Linked DNA regions of Homo sapiens: region 2 is linked to region 1. Evidence: promoter capture Hi-C in human tissues and cell types (Jung and others, 2019). All regions are on one chromosome and are shown on one strand. The core of a region is centred on a gene start or on the middle of the fragment in contact, and the rest is flanking DNA. Distances in the headings are between cores, read along the strand shown. Region 1 overlaps CAST (calpastatin). Region 2 holds the start of GPR150 (G protein-coupled receptor 150).

Region 1 (4,438 bases), core at 58-2,557:
CCCGAAGACTGAAAAAGACAGATCTCATAAAATGATACAGAATAAGAAGAAAATTCAGACAAAAGTGTACATCCTTGATAGGAAACAAGATGGTATTACCTTCATGAAATGGAGTAAAGAGCTATAGATTGAGATGGAATGATAATGGAGTGAGACAAAGAGGTAAGAGAGGATAAGAAGGGGACACAAAGAAACCAAAAACGAAAACCAAAATTTAAACCTGTATTAGAAGTTTCAAAGAGCAGAATTTAGAAATAAAATATGTGGGGGGCAAACTTCAGAAACTCTCCTAGAGTGCAAGGGTAAATGTCAGCAAAAGAAAATTGTGAGGCAGATGATTAGTGAATGTCTAATGTCAGAATTACAGTAGTCTCTCTTATCTGCAGTGGATATATTCTAAGATTCCCCAGTGGGTGCCTGAAACTGCAAATAGTACTGAGCCCTGTATTCACTATGGTTTTTCCTATACATACATACCTATAATAAAGTTTAATTTCTAAAATAGGCACAGTAAGAGATTAACAACAATAACTAATAATAAAATATAACAATTATAGCAATATACTGTAATACAAGTTATGTGGATGGGGTCTCTCTCTCTCAAAATATCTCATTGTATTGTACCGTGGGTAACTGAAATCATGAAAAGCGAAACAGCTGATAAAGAGGAACTATTGCATATGTAGGTTTAGGAAGAAACAAGGGAAACCGAAACAAGAGTAATAATTAAAGAAATAATGAAATAACAGACATTCCAAGACAAATTAATAAAGAAAAACACATATTAATATATAAGTACATCCTGGTAGTATTTTTTTTTTTTTTTTTTTTTGAGACGGAGTCTCGCTCTGTCGCCCAGGCTGGAGTGCAGTGGCGGGATCTCGGCTCACTGCAAGCTCCGCCTCCCGGGTTCACGCCATTCTCCTGCCTCAGCCTCCCAAGTAGCTGGGACTACAGGCGCCCGCCACTACGCCCGGCTAATTTTTTGTATTTTTAGTAGAGACGGGGTTTCACCGTTTTAGCCGGGATGGTCTCGATCTCCTGACCTCGTGATCCGCCCGCCTCGGCCTCCCAAAGTGCTGGGATTACAGGCGTGAGCCACCGCGCCCGGCCCATCCTGGTAGTATTTTTAAATTGTAAGAACAAAAGAAAAAAATCTTGCACCAAGGCAAGAAAAATAGGCTTCCTAAAAAGTAAGTCAAAAGTAGGCTGCCTCAGACATCTCTGAAGCACAAAAAGCCAGAAAACCACGAAGCAATAGATACAGAATTTTGAGGAACAAAACTGTGACCCAAGGATGTTGTACAATTTTGTATTGATGGACTTTCTTGTGAGTCACCAACGAGAAAACATGCTTACATTCACACACTCAGAAAATCATCATTGTGCTCCCTCCCTGAAAAAAATATCTTAGAAAATACTCTGGTCAATGAAACAATAAATGAAAATTTCAAATGAAAAAATGGGGAAACCACAGTTGAAAAGAATCTTGTAACTTCCCAGAGTCACTTTAGCCTCCCAAGTCAGACTCAGCTCCCAAGTCGCACCCAGTGCGAGCCTGTGCTGGCCTCTTGGGGCTAGATATCCCGGTGAGCCAGGCATGACTGCCTCGGTGCAGCTTTTCGGCTTAGCTTTTCTTGGCACTGAGACATGAGCTTGTGCAGCCACAATCGACTCCCCACAACTAGTATGAACTCTCTTGTCATGACATAAAAGAATGTTAAAATGTTTGCTGCAGTACTCTTCTAGAACTTGCTAATGACAGCTAAATCACTTGTGGGAACACTGTCACAAATTACTTCTTGAATAAGAAGTAAATTTCTCCTCCCTTCAAAAACAGAGCACAAAATAATGAACATTAAATGCCATACTGAATGCCAAGGTGCTTGAATAATGGTTTTCTATATACTTAAATGCCACACACACTGATGGGTCTTTTTTTAATTGGAAAAGATTTATCTATCACAAAGCACATTATTTATCATTTTCAGACTAGGCCCTATAATGGTGTTCCTTTGCTATTTCTGCTTAAAAATCAAGATATGCAGCATTTCAGTAAACAAAATAAGCAAACAAAGAAAAAAGATGCAGGAAAATACACCAAGATGTACATAGTGCCCATTTCTCTAGGTGCTAGAATCCTAGATGAGGGTGTTTATTTTCCATTTTTCTTTTCTTCTTCTTCTTTTTTTTTTTTTTTTTTTTTTTTTGAGACAGAGTCTCGTTCTGTTGCCCAGGCTGGAGTGCAGTGGTGTGATCTTGGCTCCCTGCAACCTCCGCCTCCCAGGTTCAAGCAATTCTCCTGCCTCAGCCTCCCGAATAGCTGGGACTATAGGCGCCCACACCCACGACCACGCCTGGCCAATTTTTGTATTTTTAGTAGAGTTGGGGTTTCACCATATCGGCCAGGCTGGTCTTGAACTCCTGACCTTGTGATCCGCCCACCTCAGCCTCCCAAAGTGCTGGAATTATAGGCATGAGCCACCACGCCTGGCCAAGGGTGTTTATTTTCATTAAATTCTCTGGTACTTTCTAATTTTTTTCCAATAATTATATTTTAGCTACACAATCATTAAAAAGTACTAAAATTGGCATATATAATAATTATAAATACATGACATTATCGCGTTAATTTAAGTATATACACACAAGTTTAGAGCAGTAGTTTAAGCGGTAAGACTCAGGGTAATATTGTTTTTCACAAGTATGTATTACTTTTGTGATTAAAAAAGTCTAACTTTATTAAAAGAAAAAAGTAAAAAAAAAATGTTTGAGTCATTCAACATTGAATTCATGCATTCTAAAAGGAGGAGAGGTAAACACTGAGGAAAAGCATGCCACCAATGCCATTAGAGTAAGGAAAATGTAAAAAAACATCTTTTCCTTTAAGGCAGAATTTCCGTTCGCTTTTATTTGTGTTTTCTTTACTCATAAAAATAAATCCATTGTTAAATTTGAAGCTTTTAAAATTGGCTCTCTGAGATCATGCCCGTTTTATACTTTAAATTCCATTCCCCAGGACTTTACTGAAATATGTTGCTAAAAGATTCACACTCTCTCAGTGTGGCCGGATGTGTCAGTTTCATCCTTTAAATAGATTTGATTGCAGGTTTGGAAAGACTTATTTGTTCTACTGCATTTAAAGTTGCTGATGTTAAGTGTTTTCATTTTTCTTTTTCCTCCTCTCTAGTTATTTTATCTTTGGCTTGTTAGTCCATGCAACTTTTGGTCCTGTAATTCCTCTACATCTGAGAAAGAATTGAAAAATTCATAACAATTGGTATAAACAAGCAAACATAAATAAATTCTCTCAGACACTTACCTTACCCTATCCTCAAGTATTTGTATTTCAAACGCAGCATGACAAATGTATTAGCTTCAACATTCTATTACAATTGCTATAGGTAGCTGGGCGTGGTGGCTCACACTTATAATCCTGGCACTTTGGGAGGTGGGAAGATTACTTGAGCGGGGGAGGTCAAAGCTGCGGTGAGCCATGATCACACTACTGCACTCCAGCCTGGGTGACAGAGTAAGACCTCATCTCAAAAAATAAAAATAAAATTGCTGCAGGTATCTTAGGATTACTTAATGGTTGTGTGTTGGGGTAATATTCCAAAAAAGTAAAAACTATTGACAAATAGCAAGGGAGAAAGAACTCTGAAATTCACATGGCTACATTCATCTCCATGTGTGTTTTTGTTTGTTTGTTTGTTTTGAGACAGAATCTTGCTCTGTCACCCAGGCTGGAGTGCAGTGGCGTGATCTCGGCTCACTGCAACCTCTGCCTCCCGGGTTCAAGTGATTCTCCTGCCTCAGCTGCCTGAGTAGGTGGGACTACGGGTGCGCGCCACCTTGCCAGACTAATTTTTTCTGGTATTTTTAGTAGAGATGGAGTTTCACCATTTTAGCCAGGATGGTGTCGATCTCCTGACCTTGTGATCTGCCCGCCTCAGCATCCCAAAGTGCTGGGATTACAGGCATGAGCCACCGCACCCGGCCCTCCATGTATTTTTATATATGGCAATATAACGGTGGTTCTCACCTAACCCTCATCAATTTTTTCTTCTGGTTATACCCTCCCAAAGTCCTCCTCTGTGCCCTTTTCTGGCATCTCTAATAGAAATGTAGCAGAATAATAAAAAGAGAAGAAAAACTGTGAAGAAGATAGAAAGCAAATTTTCAAACTGATTTTGTTTCAAAGACCCTGGTTTGTCCTCAGAGGGCTAACCAGTATATTTGCATATGCTTGGGGACAGTAAGTTATTTAACATTGGAGGGTACATGCCAGTTTGAAAATGGATTACTAAAAACCAAACTAAGCTTCTTAGTCTCACGTTTTGTTCAACAGAGCAGTAGGTAAGAAAATATTTGGGAGAAATAATCAGTTTCAGGAAGTCTTTCTCTGGTAATTTTGAGAAGAAAAGGAGATGGCAAC
Region 2 (4,540 bases), core at 235-2,734, 1.1 Mb after region 1:
CTTTCGCAGGAGCAAGGCAGGGGTCTGGGGCGCGGAGGGGGTGGGCGCAAGCCGCCCTCGTCCAGCGGTTCCCGCCGAGCATGGTGATAATGAGGGTGGGGCCAGCGTTGGCGGTAGAGCGCCTGGTGGCCCCGGGGCCCCTCCTCGTCCTCCGCGCCTCCCTGCGGCGCGCAGCACAGAGAGCCCAGCCGCTTCCGCAGCTGTCGCCGGAGCCGGCAGTCGCCCGCCTGGAAGAAGAGGTAGACGAAGGGATTGAGAGCGCTGTTGGCCATCGCCACCACGCGCAGCGCCGCCGACAGGCCCTCTCCCTCCCAGTCTCCCGCGGGCCCGGACGACCACGCGGCCGCCAGCCGGGCGGCAAAGTAGGGCAGCTCGCAGCCCACGAACAGCAGCGCCAGCAGCAGGCTCATCTTCAGGCTCTGCACCTTGGCGCGGGGCAGCGCGCTGGGCGCAGGGGCTCGACCTGGGCTCGCCGACCAGGGCGCTGCAGCCGCGGGGGCCTGCGGCCGGTGCCGCCACCAGACGGAGAGTAGGTGGCCGCAAGCGACGCCCAGGACCGTAACAGGCGCGACGAAGCCCGCGACGGCCTCGTAGAACGCGTAGACCTGCAGGTGCCAGCGCGGCAGGGGCGCGAAGATCCCGTGGCAGCGACGCTCCCCCGGCCAGGCGCGGGCGGCCGGGGGCGCGCCTGGCTGCAGGGACGTTGGCGGCGGCGGCGGCGGCAGCGGCGAGGGGGAGTCCCCGCGCACCACGAAGGCCGGGGGCAGCGCCAGCAGCAGTGCCAGCAGCCAGCCCAGGGCGGCGAGGGCACGCGCGGGCAGCGGCCGGCCGTGCGGAAGACGCACCGCGCGCCGGCGCTCGAGGGCGATGAGCACCACGAGGTGGGCCGAGGCGCCCCGCCCGGATGCCTGCAGCAGCTGCAGGAAGCGGCACGCCAGGTCCCCCGTGGCCGCGCGGGGCTCGCCCAGCAGTTCCCAGGCCAGCTGTGACAGCGCCGTGCCCCCGCACGCGTACAGGTCCGCCAGGGCCAGCTGCACCAGCAGGAAGTCCATCTTGCGACGCTTGGGGCCCGCCCAGGGCCCGCCGCCGCCGCACAGGCGGCACAGCACTGTGGTGTTGCCTGCCACCGCCACCACCAGGATGACCCCCAGGAACACCAGGCGGACGCGGCGGCTGGGCGGCCCAGAGGCAGGGGCTCCTTGCCCCAAGGTCAGGTTGAGACCCCAGCCCAGCAAGATGGGCACGGAAATGTTGGGCGCCGGCGGCAGAATTGAGGGGCTAAAGAGATCCTCCATCCTTGTCCCGGAGGAAGAGGAGGCACCGAAGAGGGCGGGCAGGACGCGGGAAACCAAAGTGGAGGCGAGGCGGCGCGGGGAGCGACGCTGGGTCTATACGAGTTCCCAAAGTTAGTTGAAAAGGCACACGCACAGAGAGGGAGATGGATTCGGGCGGCTTTGCGCTTAGTTGTTTTTGTCGATTGTCCTCGTGATTTGTCACTCAAATGTGGGTTGTACACTCGAGGAACACACATGATTCCTATTCTCCACCTTCCCCGCGTCTTCCCTCCCATTCCCGGCGGGTACTCTTCCAATCTCTGCAGCGGCCCCCGACGCTACCCTCGCGGAAGCCGCGGACCCCTGGGCGCTGAGAACCTCATCCATTCTCTATTTACGTGTAAAGCACAGCAGGACAGAATGTCGCTTTGCTTGGCCATTGTATACGGCCAGTGTTATGCCAGCACCCACACAAGAGAGGACCTCTTGACTGAGATTGTACCACACGCCCCCACCACCCCAATGTGATTGCCAGTAGGAAAAAAATAGAAAAGACATTAGTTTTTATTTTAAAGGTTTGAAATGCCATGGATCTGCACGAGCATGAGAAAAACAGGAACACAAGAAACCTAACAGCGTTTTGAGCAAAGAGGAGACCTATTAGCTGAATTTTGATCAAGATGTGTCTTCTCTGTCCAAGAATGAAAGTATTTTAATTAGAGGGTACTAAAGTCAATGATGTTGCTTTTAGGAGTGGCAGTGTTGCAGATCGTTCCAAATACTAGGAGCAGTGGGTCACAGCTGCTTTCTTGGTGATGTAAAATTCATTTCATTAGTCTGAAGAGGGCATTAATAGGTTTTATGCAAATGGTAGTGCATTTATTGCTTTTCTCCTAATATTTTCATCCAGTGAAGGATGCGTCATCACACTCCTCATTCTCTTGATTCTGTTTTCCAGCAGATGGGAAGTTGCTAGGAGGGGCTACGCCTCCAATAAGCCTAGAGAAAAGGTGACTAAGAAAGTGATAAGGCGGCCAATTTTTTTAAAAAAGAAATCCAAGTCACAGGAAATGGTTTAGATTAAATGTTGCTGCTTTCATTTTAGCCTTGTCTCCTCACAAACACATTTTAGTTTCCCTGTTGGAAGCATCCATTTGTCTTTTTATGCACCCTCCACGTTAATCATGGTGAAAGTAGAATTTCCTGTACTTCCTGGCCTGGGGGCCAGGGAGGTATGAGTGTTGTCTAGGGTTCACATTCCCAATCTGAGGAAACATTTGGAACTTTAAGATTCATGGCCTAGGAAGATTTGGTGGGTTCCATGATAGTCCTGCCAGCTGCTGTAGGAATCCCATTTCCCAAGCTGTTGTCCTTTGGCCAGAAACCTTGGTTATTTTCATCATCATCTCTGTGGTGCCTCGCTCTGGTCTGACAGGTTGTAGTTATCAGTGGGTATGTGTTGAGTTGATGAATTAGTGGATATACGATGCTTTTCAGATACCTTCGAGCATAAATGCCTGCCTTGACTATAAATCCATCACCTAAGAAAAAATTCCTTTTATACTATGCCAGTATTGTCCAGAGGAGCCCAAGGAAGCTCTGTGGAGACATAGGAATAAGTGTTCCTGGTGGGACATTTAAGAAAGCTAGAGTGATAGCCTTGGAAAATCTAAAATCCTGGTTTGATTTTCATACTCTCCCTTTAGAACTTTTTATCCAAGGCCTTTTTCTATGCACACACATCATCCCAGTTTATAATGCACTTCTTCCAGGGAGCCTTCTCTGAGCAATGTTCATCATTCAGTGATTTTCCTAGCCAGTATCATTTCAGTGTTTCTCAAGATAGTCTATCATTTGTCTCAAATTTGTTGAAATGCTCTTATATATTAGCATTTCAAAATGACTATAGTGAAATTTCACAGAACTTTAGTAAGATCTGATAAAACATTGATTTTCAACAAATTCTTTTTTTTTTTTTTTTTTCCCTTTTTGAGACAGGGTCTCACTCTGTTGCCCAGGCTGGAGTGAAGTGGCATGATCATAGCTCACTGCAGCCTCGACTTCCTGGGCTCAGGTGATTCTCTCACCTCAGCCTCCCAACTAGCTGGGACTGTAGGCAGACACCACCACACCCAGCTAAGTTTTGTATTTTTTGTAGAGGCTAAGTTTCGCCATGTTGCCCAGGCTAGTTTTAAACTCCTGGGCTCAAGAATCTGCCCACCTTGGCCTCCCAAAGTGTTGGGATTACAGGCATGAGCCACTGGGCCTGGCCTAAACTAATTCTTATTAAAATTATACAATGCACATAGTTTTGAAAGTCAAATGGAACTAGAAGGCTGATAACATAAAGAGTTCCCTGTCCTATACATCTCCACTTCTTTATCCCCTCTTTCTAGAGGGAACCAATTTAGACTCTATTTGCTCTTTCTTCTGGCATTGACTTAATTCATAATAGTAAATAATATATATGTAATGCTATTCATTGATTTAACAAATTGATATATTATCTGTTAACTTCTTATTAAAGACTTATCTCTCGCACCTCTGTCACTATTTCCATTTCCCATACCATTAGAACAATACTGTAATTTTGGGTTAGACTTATATTTGGTGTTTATATTATTATGAAACAAAAATATTCACAGTTGAGTTGTATATTGTGAATATTATTTTTTGTTATTTTTAAAGTTAATAATTGCCTTTTCTTACTTTTCATTGTTATCATAGCTAATTCTTCCTGTACCCTCAAATAGTCCCCCCAAGCAATTTCCACAAGGTCAGTTTCAAAACGTAATATAGCAGCTCCAATTTTTTTTCACGGAAACCTCTTTACCAGAGACTTTCATTTTTCTCTTATTTGGGCTAATTTCTCCCAAGGCCTACTGCATAACTACCATCTGCGGACCTCCATTTGTTGTCGTCATTGAAACTTTCTGCCTTTCTCTTGGGTTGCAGTTCCTGTTTCTTGGATCTCTGGTCTTTCTCCTTGATTTCTTCCTTTTTGGTAGAACACATCATCTAATATTTCATAAGGTTTACAAGGTTGTACAAAGCCTGAGAACTAAGTGGTAAGAGACCTCATTGTACTCCTTATTTGAGTCATGCAGATTCTGTCTGGACATGTTGCCCTCTGGGCCAGCGGTCATCCTGGCATCTCACGTCAGCATCGTCCTAGGGATTCCTTTCACTTATCTCATGCTGGTTCTCTTGTTTTCTGATTTAATGGATTTTTTTCTTTCCTGGTTTATTTTCTTGCTTGGGAAGAA

What was found. Contacts are between HindIII fragments. The study calls those that stand out against the background at their distance.
Region 2: the fragment with the promoter of GPR150 here is called in contact with a fragment that was not itself captured in region 1 in 1 of the 25 tissues and cell types used here (heart right ventricle).

What each region holds. Positions count from the first base shown.
Region 1 is chr5:96,678,127-96,682,564 of GRCh38, reverse strand. The region is part of intron 2 of CAST (calpastatin); the gene reads right to left. Among named protein-coding and RNA genes, the nearest start is that of CAST, 18 kb to the right of the region's middle. The HindIII fragment of the contact is 4,670 bases long and covers 1-3,642 here.
Region 2 is chr5:95,617,031-95,621,570 of GRCh38, reverse strand. GPR150 (G protein-coupled receptor 150) reads right to left here and starts at 1,484. Exons shown (of 1, transcript NM_199243.3): 1 at 1-1,484. The coding sequence starts at 1,295. RefSeq lists enhancers at 1-116, 1,313-1,928 and silencers at 134-583, 292-586, 604-653, 744-1,143. The HindIII fragment of the contact is 8,865 bases long and covers 1-4,540 here.